Linked DNA regions of Homo sapiens: all the other regions are linked to region 3. The links are contacts of gene promoters, found by promoter capture Hi-C in blood cells and fetal thymus (Javierre and others, 2016). All regions are on one chromosome and are shown on one strand. The core of a region is centred on a gene start or on the middle of the fragment in contact, and the rest is flanking DNA. Distances in the headings are between cores, read along the strand shown.

Evidence for each region. Contacts are between HindIII fragments. The CHiCAGO score rates a contact against its expected background, and 5 or more counts as called.
Region 1: a contact is called between a fragment that was not itself captured here and the fragment with the promoter of SLC5A9 in region 3, in 2 of 17 cell types (neutrophils and monocytes). The highest score is 11.6, in neutrophils.
Region 2: a fragment that was not itself captured here is called in contact with the fragment with the promoter of SLC5A9 in region 3 in 1 of 17 cell types (neutrophils); the score reaches 5.5 in neutrophils.

The regions. Positions count from the first base shown.
Region 1 is chr1:48,504,127-48,508,027 of GRCh38, reverse strand. No RefSeq gene overlaps it. Among named protein-coding and RNA genes, the nearest start is that of SPATA6, 34 kb to the right of the region's middle. The HindIII fragment of the contact is 5,146 bases long and covers 1-3,901 here.
Region 2 is chr1:48,521,951-48,525,519 of GRCh38, reverse strand. It overlaps a transcript of AGBL4 not described here. Among named protein-coding and RNA genes, the nearest start is that of SPATA6, 52 kb to the right of the region's middle. The HindIII fragment of the contact is 5,195 bases long and covers 1-3,569 here.
Region 3 is chr1:48,220,948-48,224,924 of GRCh38, reverse strand. It overlaps SLC5A9 (solute carrier family 5 member 9), which reads right to left and starts at 2,209. Exons shown (of 14, transcript NM_001011547.3): 1 at 2,027-2,209; 2 at 130-201. The coding sequence starts at 2,188. The HindIII fragment of the contact is 4,425 bases long and covers 959-3,977 here.

The DNA of each region.
Region 1 (3,901 bases), core at 925-3,424, 280 kb before region 3:
AATTAAAATGAAAATTTATGTGATCATTTCAATAGATGTGGAGGAAGCATTGACAAAAGTTCAACATCTATTCATGGTTAAAACCAAAATATAAAAACCTGTCAGCAAAGTGGGAATAGAATATAGTTTATCAACCTGATAAACAGCATCTAGAGTAGGCCTAGAAACAATGACAGGTCCAGTAGTAGTGAGCATCCCTGGTGCCTGCAAGGTGGTCTTAAAACACCATTTCTCATGAAAAGAAATTAGGGCTTCTCAGAAAAATGTCTTCTTCTGGGTCTGTGACAGAAAATATTCCAGATAAACCTGGAACATCTTGCCTAACCATAGAGCAAAAACAATGTTGAAGACTACTAAGGGCCAGTTAAAAGGACTGAGGAGTCAGCTTGTAACACTCTCAGTGGCTAAAGAAGGGACAATTTGGGCTTCAATAAGTGTAACAACTGCAATGGCTTAAAAATGCCAAATATGTTTAAATCCATTATTAGTTCAGTAAAAAATGATTTCGTTTCATGGAATGATAGGACAGCTCATTATCTTGAGTAAATCATTATCTTGGAAACTGGTAAATAGAAAGAATAAAAATTTTATCCTGACTTTCTTGTGAGAACTGGAAACTGTGCTAACAGCAATGTATTAGTCAGGGTTCTCTGGAGAAACAGAACCAATGGAAATCTCTAGCTAGCTAACTATGTATAAAGAGAGAGAGAGAGATTTATTATGAGGAATTGGCTTATGGAGGCTGAGATGTCCTATGAGCTACTGTCTGTATGCTGGAGATCCAGGAAAGCTGACAGCATAGTTCAGGCCAATGGCCTGAGAACCAGGGGAGCTGAGGGTGTAAGTCTCAATCCAAAGGCAGAAAAAGACTGATGTCCTAGCTCAAACCGTCAGGCAGAAAGAGATCATTCAACCTTCCTTTGCCTTTTTGTTCTATTCAGACCTTCAATGTGTTGCATGGTGCCCACCCACACTGAGAAGGGCAAATTGAATTATGCTAATTCAAATGCTAATCTCATTTGGAAACACCCTCACAGACACTTCCAGAAATACTGTTTAACCAGACATCTGCACATCTCATGGTCAAGCTGACACATAAAATTAACCATCATTATCAAAAACAGAAAAAAACAGACATTATGGGCTTTCTGTTGAGAGAACACGTCACTATCTATATTTTGAAAAAAACAAAAAACTCTGAATCTGAACAAGTCTCTAGATTCAATTACTAATTTTCATGAAATGCAGAGAAACTTATTAACCTATACCATGAGGGATCAATCAGTAAAACTGAGACTTAAGTCACCTAAACATCAAATAACCTAAGATCATCCAAAATAAATTGCAAGTGTAAGGATGGGGAGTTAGAGGGGGATACTTTAAAGAGATTGTGAAACATATAAAACAGGGAGAACCAATCTGTATTATTTAGAGATTCACCCTAAATGATAAAACTATAGAGAAATACAAAAGAGTGATTACTATAAAAATTAAAGATAATGGTTACTTTGAGAGGGGAGGAAGAAGGCTGTGATGGGGTATATGAAGGGCTTTTGAGCTAGTTAGCGATGTTCTATTTCTTGACTTTGGCGGTAGCTATAGGGCTGTTTGCCTTAAAATAATCCAATAATCTACTCAACTGTAGCTTTGTTTCATGTGCTTTTCTGTATATGTGTTTTATTTTATAATAAAGAAGTGTTAAGTCACTATTAAGAAAGTGATTTGAGGCTGGGTGCGATGGCTTAAGCCTATAATCCCAGCACATTGGGAGGCTGAGGCAGGTGCATTGCTTGAGCCCAGGAGTTTAAGACCAGCCTGGGCAACATGGTGAAATCCTGTCTCTATAAAAAATACAAAAATTTAGGTGGGTGTGATGGCGCATGCCTGTCCTCTCAGCTACTGGGGGTGCTGAGGTGGGAGGATCATCTGAGCCCTGGGGGTGGAGGTTGCAATGAATTGAAATCACGCCACTGCACTCCAGTCTAGGCAACACAGAAAGACCCTGTCAAAAAAAAAAAAAAAGAAAAGCGATTTGAGTGGGAGAAGATATTTGTACCCATATAATCAACAAAGGAGAATATTCAAAACACAATAAATAACTCCTGAAAATTCATTAGAAAATAGTAATCAACTGTGTTGTAGAAACAGATGGAACACTCATATTGACAAATTTGTGGAGAGTTTTACAAACATAAATTTACAAGATTGAGAGTAGGGTGTAGGGAGACCACAGTTACCCCTCCAAGTCTGAAAGGACAAGGAGACATAACAGTCCCTAGAATCTAGAAGCACAAAGAGTTGCTGCAGAGAGCTGCCTTCCAGAAATTGTGGTCAAAGGATGCAGTCAGCCCCTTCTGACTCTGCAAAGAGGAAGGTGGTGGAATAAATACTCCAGTCTCCCTTCCCTTCCTCCCTTCAGTGCTCAACAAGTGCTGAAGTTAGAGGTCAAGGATCCCATGTCTGTAATCCATTTGGGTCAGCCTCCGAGGACAAAAGGCAGAGTAAAGAAGTTGTGAATGGATCTGGAGGTGCAACTGAAAGATGTCCTGCACAAAAGCTCTGTAGACAAGTGATCAAAAAAACTTAAATGGCCAAAACTCTTATAAGAAGGTGTTCAACCTGATTCGTAATTAGGGAAATGCAAATTAAAGCCACATGACATAAAGGCAACAAGTGAGGCCAGGCGCAATGGCTCACGCCTATAGTCCCAGCACTTTGGAAGGTTGAGGCAGGTGGATCACCTGAGATCAGGAGTTCAAGACCAGCCTGGCCAATATGGTGAAACCCTGTCTCTACTAAAAATACAAAAATTAGCTGGGCATGGTAGCGGGTACCTGTAACCCCAGCTACTTGGGAGGCTGAGGAAGGAGAATTGCTTGAACCTGGGAGGCAAAGGTTGCAATGAGCTGAGATTGCACCATTGGACTCCAGCCTGGGTAACAGAGTGAGACTGTCTCAAAAATAAAATTAAAAAAAAATAAAAAGGCAACAAGTGTTGGTGAGGATATAGAGAAACTGGAACATTTGCACACTGTTGGTGAGAATGCAATATGGTGCAGCTGTTTGAAAAACAATATGGAGGTTACTAAAAAAAATGGAACTACTATATGATCCAGCAATTCCACTTCTGGGTAATGATCCAACTGAACTGAAATCAGGATCTCACACTTCTGGGTAAAGATCCAACTGAACTGAAATCAGGATCTCAAAAAGATATTAGCACTCTTATGTTCACTGCAGCACTATTCACAATAGCCATGATGTGCAAACAACCTAAAAGTCCATTGACAGATGAATGAAAAAAGGAAATGTGGTATATATATATACAAAGAAATACTCTTCAGCCTTAAAAAAAGAAGAAAATTCTGCAATATGCAACAACATGGATGAACCTAGAGGACATTATTCTAAGTGAAATATGACAGTTGCAGAAAACCAAATACTACAGAATTCCTCTTATGTATCTAAAATAGTCGAATTCATAGAATGAAAGAGTAGTTGCCAGGGGTGTGGGGAGGAGGAAGTGGAGAATGACTAATTGGTGGGCATAAAGTTCCAGTTAAGCAAGATGAATAAGCTCTGGAGATCAGCTGTACAACATTGTATCTATAGTCAACAATAAGTACTGTACACTTAGGAATTTGTTAAGAGGGTAGATTTCAGATTATGTGTTCTTACCACAATCCAACTAAGTTAACTTTTAAAAACGTCAGATTAACAAGAATTTAAAAGTCTGATAGTACCACATGTTGGCAAGGGTATGGAGCAATGGGAACTCTTCCACCACTAAGTACATCAATTGGTATGATTTTGAAAAATAATTTGGTGTTATATAATTCAGTTGACAATACTCTCAGGCTATGACCCAACAATTCCACTCCTGGGTATATATTCTAGAGAA
Region 2 (3,569 bases), core at 509-3,008, 300 kb before region 3:
AAAACATTTTCCAATATTTTCTTTCTTCTGAGACCTCATGAAGTTCCCTACTTCATCCATGCTTTTAACCTGAAGTGTCTCATCACTAATTTATCCAACACAAATAATGAAGCATCTGTGTTTGCTAGGCACCTCCCCATTCCTCTCTGCTGCCCTGATTTTTACTGATTCTACAAGACCCCTCCTTCAGGAAGTCTTTCCTGGTGCACTGGCCCTGAGCTTCTAGGGAACCACTGTCTAAACACATTTCATTTGACACTTGGTAATGGCTTTGGTATTTCACTTTTATTGTGTATCAGCTCTCTTACCAATTCAACTTTCCATTTTCTTGGACTGAGATGTTTAGAGAGGGCCAAAAACAGTCTTACTCATTTATGGGGCCCAAGAGCCTTAGCATAAGGCCAGAGACAGAGAAGCCATTCACAGAGAATTTGTGGCTGTTGCTGCTGCTGCTGGTGGCGAAAATGAGACTGAGGATGCCTGCTCCAAGCAGAACATTTTGGTGATGCTGACACCCCTCCTTTTCTCTCTCCCTCCAGAAGTTCACAAATAAAAGCAACCCTGAAACTTCTGGATAAAGTGGAGCAAACCTAGCTTATAGGCCCATATAGGAAGTTGTGAGACTTTAGGCTAATAGTATCCATAGGGCAAAAACAAAAAAAAAAAAAAAAGGAGAAAGCTGGGGAGAGACTACGACAGGTAAAAGAGATAAATTGACTATGATGTATTTGAATGTATGTGTGTGTGTGTGCTACCATTATGTGAACATCTTATATGAATAACTTCTTTATATTTGTGTGTGAAAATGCATAAGTTTGTTCAGTTGTGAATGTTTTTACTGAATATTAGATGACAGATCATTGTCAAATCTAAGCAGATTTTTTTACATCTACTCATAGTCAGAGGTCCTGGGTTAAGCTGCTGTTTGAAATTCTGTCTACTTTCTTGACATTTCATCCATATTAATGGATCACCCCTCTGCCCCAGCCTCCCAGGGACTGTGCTCAGCACGATGTCAGGGCCACCTCTCCTCTTTCCCAGTCCCAGTGAAGGCTGATCCTGGCTGATTCAGCCAAGCCAGTCCCTCTGGGGTGGAGAGCTCACCAAGAACCCCCTTTTCAGACTCTGTCTCCAGGTGATCTTGTGTTTAGGTGTCTTTTCTGTATTTCAGCTTTGTGTTCCTGTCTTTCTCTTTTTTTTTCTCTCTTCAGATCAGCCTTGACTAAAGGTTGAAAAACATTGCTTGTGTGGTGTTATGAAGAAGTGAGAGGTAGTTCTCCTTAATACCCCTAATACCTCTCCAAAGTGCTCCTGGAGCTGAAATTCCATGATTCCAGGGGGTTTGTTTCTGTTCAATTTCAGAAGCACTCACTGAGGGCCTGCTCTAAAATAGGTCGAATACCAGGTGGTGGTCAAAAGTGAAGGGCACACAGCTGTGAAATACAGTCACACACCACCTCACAATGTTTCAGCCAATGATAGACTACCTGAATGACAGTGGTCCCATAAGATTATAATACTATATTTTTATTGTACCTTTCCTATGTTTAGATTTTTTTAGATACACAAATGCAAGCATTGTGTTATAATTGCCTACAGCATTCAGTAGAATAACATACTTGACGGGTTTGTAGCCTAGGAGCCATAGGCTGTACCATGTAGCCTAGGTGTATAGCAGGCCACACCATCTAGATTTGTGTAAGTACATTCTATGATGTTCACACAATGATGAAATCACCTAACAATGCATTTCTCAGAACGTATCCCTGTCATTAAACAATGCATGACTGTACATTGCTCTGGCCTAAAGAGCAGCTCCACGGAGCTTGAGACTTTGCCTTTACTGAAAAGCAAATACATGGGGTGGGGACTTTCAAACATTAAGCCTGTTTGCCATACATGCCTTAATTCATTCTTTTCTAAGTTAAATATTCATTCTTTCTTTTATTCATTTATCCTTAGGGAGGCCATGTGGTTTGGTTGAAAGAGCACTAACCCAGAGCCTGGATTTAAGCCTAATTCAGCTGCTGTCATTTCCCCTCTTTGAACCTCAACTTCCTCACCCACAGAATGGAATTAAGCATTATTGCTGTTTCTAAATCACAGGATTACTTTGAGGAATTTCAGGGAAAGTGAATGTAGTGGGGAGAAAGAACTCACATTCTCTGAGTTCCTACTAGAGGCAGTACTTTGCATGCATCCATTCTGTAGCCATACAATAGGAAGGGGATGGGGACAAGTGAGGACATCAGGAGCAGGGACAAAGGCCTAGAAATGATCCATTAGAAGGAGTCTTAACTGGAAGCAGAGAGACCTGGAATCTAATCGCAATATGTTCCCAGCATTTATATAACTTTAGAAAAGTCACTCTCCCTCTCTAAGCCTCAGTTTTCCCATCTACAAAATGGAATCTGTTGAAGTAGGTGATCACTAAGGGCTCCTCCAGTTCTGCCATTTTGGGTCTCTAGGAACACCCCCTTCAACCCACTTGCCTACCCTAAAAATGATCTCACACTGACCCCAGTATGCATGTCAGGTTGCTAAACCCTAATGAGGACTAGGTAGTGAAGTTTCTTTCTTTTTTTTTTTTTTTTGAGATGGAGTCTTGCCCTGTCGCCCAGGCTGGAGCGCAGTGGCACGATCTCGGCTCACTGCAACCTCTGTCTCCCAGGTTCAAGCGATTCTTCTGCCTCAGCCTCCTGAGTAGCTGGGATTACAGGTGCACTCCACCATGCCCAGCTAATTTTTGTATGGTAGTGAAGTTTCATACTTAGTTCAGCAACTCTGGTGGTGATTCCCGCCTTCCAAAGATTCTTTCTGTCCTCAGACTTAATGCTGAACCAGAGACCTCTGGAGAGGTGAGACGAGCTGGTGACACCACGAACCTTGCATACAAGAGATGCAGTACTGAGGACCTAATTAACATCACCGTGCAGTAGGCACCATGGAGCACACTTGAGCTGCCAAAGAGAATAAATAAAGCAGTGTTTTATCTTAAGTGTTGATTAACAGTGAGTAATAAATAGACCGTGTCTTATTTACTATGCCTTCCCTGCACAGGCCTGCTATGGCTGACCTAGACCTTGTGAGACAGCATACCCTGATTTCAAGTGTGTGCATTATAAGTTGCTTGTCAAGCAGCTGGAGAACTGGGCTTCTGACTGGATGTTGTAATAGACTCATGCAGAGATGTGGGCACAAGAGTCTGGAATCTGATGTCTGACAGATCAAACTTAGAGTCCTGCTCTGCCACGATGTGGCCTTGAGCCATCCCTGTGAACCTGTTTACTCACTTTAAAAATGAGATTAATTAATGTCTGGGTTACAGGAAGGTTGTGAAGGGTGGATGATGAGAAGATATAAATAAAGACCAAATGAAAGTGTCCCACAGAGGGTAGGTATTGTTCTCAGTCACATCCACATTACTCTTACGCTTAGTATTTCTAAGTCAGTCAAACCAACACCCTGACATACATTATAAATGGGTAATGTGGCCCCTCATTATAACTGACTAATAATGTAACAGGGTCTTTACCAACATCAGGTGGTCATTTGTCCGCGTCCAAGAC
Region 3 (3,977 bases), core at 960-3,459:
GTCAGGAAACACAACGGGGAGGTCTTTGCCTTGGTCCAGGTGTGAGAAGATGGGACAAGTGCTTGGATAGTGGGGAGGAAGAAAGTTGGGAGCCTCTGCACTAGGGGTGGTTGAGAAGGGTCAACTCACTGGCCACCAGCTCATGGACCTCCCGGCCAGGAAATAGCCGCCAATGGTCCCTCGACTTGCACGGATGGACGACTGGAAAGGAAATAGATGAGATGAGGATTTCTCAAGACTCTCTGAACCTCTGCCCTGCCCCCTCCCCGCAGATTTCCTTCCCCTCGGTGCAGGCACTGTGGGGACACAGAGGGTGAAAACTGAGGCAGAAGAGAGCTGCCTGAGGCTGGTTCCACAGTTTCTAAGCGATGTATCTTGGCAGAGTCACTTTCTCTGTGAGCCTCGCCATTCATCTCCCAGGGCCAGTGCGAAGAGCAAAGGAGGTAACGGATGTCACGTGTGTGAAGCCATTGATTGTGCACTCTTGTCCCCTTATCCTTCCCTCCCCAAAGTGCGCTTTCAGAGTATGATTTGTTATCACCTCCTTAGATGTGTAGTGCTCACCCTTTCTCTGAGCTGATCCCCTCCCTGCTCCCAGCTGAGCTCCCACACTGGAGGCGGGAGGACAGAGAGGGCTGCAGTTTGACTGTGAGACTTTGAGCCCTGAGTAGAGTTATGGGTACTGTTTTGGAGTTTCCCTTGCCCTGGGTTGAAATCAGATCACGCCACTGAGCCCCATCCAGGACCTCCCTGTCTTACACCAGTAGGTGGTCAGTTAGCAGCCTGTTGGAATATTCTCTGGAGATACAGGGTGAGGGCAGGGCAGTGGGTAGGGAAGGATGAACTTGAAGCAGCTATTCAGATGCAAAAGCCAACAGTTCTCTGACTTTCCCCTAAGGGAAAATAATCAGTCACGAGGGAGTGATAAATATGTGTGGGGCCTTGTGCTTGTTAAGCTTTTGCTTGTATTTTCCTTGTCAGCTCTGATCCTCTTGGAGGCCATACGAGCAAAACAGATCCATTTTACAGATGTGAAAATGGAGGCCCAACATTGGAAGCAATTTGTCCAAAGTCACAGAGGAGTTGGTGCTTTTCTCGGCTGGCCACTTCCAGGAGCCAGTGACCATCTGTTAGCCCAATTCTTCCTCACACCAGCACTAGAAGGCAGGGACTGTTCACCCCCCTTTATAGATGAGGAAACTGAGGCTCAGAGAGGGTCTCTGACCTGGCCACAGCCTAGGAAGTGACCATCTGGGACTTGAATCACAGCAGAGTCTAAAGGTGCTCACACTTCTGTGGAATGCGTGGTGATAATAGCAGCCATTTATTGCCTGCTGATCGGGCACCAGGCACCGTGCCAGGTGCTGCAGTATGTCCTGTTGCTGAATGATCACAGCATAGTCCTTATTCTCATTGTTCACCTGAGAAAGCTGATAGGCCTCATATGTTCCCAGGGACATGAGGCTCTCATTGTTGCAGCTGGGACCTGAACTCAGGTTTCCCTGACCCCAAAGCCTGGCCCCTGCCTCTAGCACTGAGGCTCCTGGGAACAATGGAGAACAGAGGAACCTTGGAATAAGCCTGGCACACTTCCCTGAGAGCACATGAGCCCCTTCTCATTTAGAAATCACCTTAGCCAAGATGCTAACGAATGCAGGACTGAGGTAGGGCCAGGGGTCAAGAGTTCTCAGAGTTGGGGGCCTTGGGGTGGGAAGAAGGAAGGAGTGAGGCTCAGGGCAACCAGGGATGGTTGGGGCCAAAGGCAGCAGGTGCTCAGAGAGGAGTCAGGAGTCGGGGGCCTGGTCTGCCTCTGACTCTCTGTGTGACCTCAGACCAGCCACACCCCTCTCTGCCCTTCTAAAAATGAGGAGATCAGGAGCCTGATTCCTGAAGGCCCTTCCTTCTCAGCCACATGGTTCTATGATCTGCTTCTTTCTGCCTAGCCCTGCCCCAGCTCCACAGCCCCACCCAAGCTGAGAGACCACTACTACCTCCCCTGCTAGCCCCAGCCTCAGGGCCCACTTACCCAGATCCCCACAGCAATGACGAAGACAAAGTAGATGACCACCACGCTGATGTCGTAGGCGTGCAGACCAACTCTGGAGTCCAGTGCTATGTGTGGAGCTGTCTCAGTCCTGACCCCGTCCCCTGAAGCTCCAGGCCCCATTGCTGCCAGCTCCTTGCTCATCTGTTAGTGTTGGTCAACAGCAGGCTGGACTTTGAGGCGCTCCTGGCTTCATTCCTTTCCTTTAATGATTAAACTGCCCCAAGCACCATTAGTTGGTGAGAAAACTCTGAGCCCTGCTGGCACATACAGTCCTGCCTCCTTTTCTCCCAACTGCCACCACCAACCCCTGCAGGACTCCTTCCTTCCTCTTCCTTGCTGCCACTACGTGCACACACATACATGCATGTGTACACACAGGCACACACATACACGCAATCTCCCTAACCCCAGATGAGCAGGAGGAGAAAGGAGGGGGAGGAGGAAGAGGAGAAAAGGAGCAGAATATTGGAACCCCAGAGGTGGGAAGGACTTCAGAAATCAAAGTGTTCAAACTCCTGTGTGGTGGGAAAACCAAGGCCCAGGGAAGTAAAGGTGGAGCCGGGACTGGAGTCCAATTTTCTTAAGAGTTCAATACAATTGTCTTTTACCTAGTGAGAGGAAGACAAGGGGAAGGAGGTGAGGAGTCTACTGTGACCCTAGCAAAGTGGCCACCACCTCATGTACTCCCATTCCAACCTACCTAGATGTTGCTTTCTCTTTTTATATAGTGTAGGAAACTGAGGCTGGGGAAGACATCATCATTTATTCCAAGGAACTAGGCAGGGCCATCTCTGAAAAGGCAGAGCCAGAATTCACATCTTCTGATGCCTGACCCATACTTCCTATTCTGTACTGTGACAGATGAAATGGTTGTGGTCAGGAGGCCTTCCCTGAAAAAGATACAGTGCTCCCTGGGTCCAGGGAAGACCATCTCTGGGACTCAGGCAGCCTAGATTTCAGTCCCAGCTCCACCTCTCACTGAACTACAGATGCCCTTGGGCAGGTTGCTAAATGTCTCTGGGCCCGGGTGTCCTCATCAGTGTGACCTGTGCCCTGCCTGCCTCACACCACCAATGAGGCTAAGATGTGCTCCTGAGAACCTCTGCAAACCCTGAGCTACTGAATGTTCTTGGGGTTAACACAAAGAAACCAACATCGACCACCATCTAGCCAAGGGGCCCAGATGCCACGCACTTAGATATCTGCTCACATGGTCCTTCCAAAGTAGCTGCATTTGGAATATTTCAGTCTTACAAATATTACTCTGCATGCATCTGCTGTAGGGCCCAGACTGGAGCAGCAGGAAAACAGATCTCACTGGCCCTGTCCCACACCCCATCCCCAGCTCTCACTGGCCCTGTCCCACACCCTATCCCCAGCATCTTATAAGTATCCCAAGGCTGGGTGTGAGGACCAGATCCTCTTTTTTCCCCTTTTGGTGGAAAGAAAAGTGAGAGGCAGGGTCCTAGGCCTTCTCTCCCCAGTTCTCCTATCCCAGAACATCAGGCACTGGCCAGGCTGAGCCCCGAGGAGAGGGATATTGATCTGGGAGAGAGGTCAGCATAGTCCCCAGCTGGACAGGGCTCTGTGGGATCTAGCACCTGTTAGGATTAGATACCAGAGGAAGAGTCCTTCATATACACGTTTAAAGGCAAGTTTATCAGACGAACAGGGATGCAGGAGGGGCAGCATTAGAAACATCAGGAAAATGTGATGGACCAGGTGCCCAGTGGTCCCTGGGGGTGAGCTGGATACAGGGACAGTGGGGAATGAGGCTGGCAGATCTCTGGGTGTTAATCAGGGAGCAGGGAAGGAGTGGTCTGAGCTTAGGCCTCTGAGCACACCATAGTGAGGGCTCTGGATCCGGATGACTCTTCCAGAGATGGGAAAAGGAATGTCGCAGGGAGAAGACAGCTGAGTCTTGTACTTC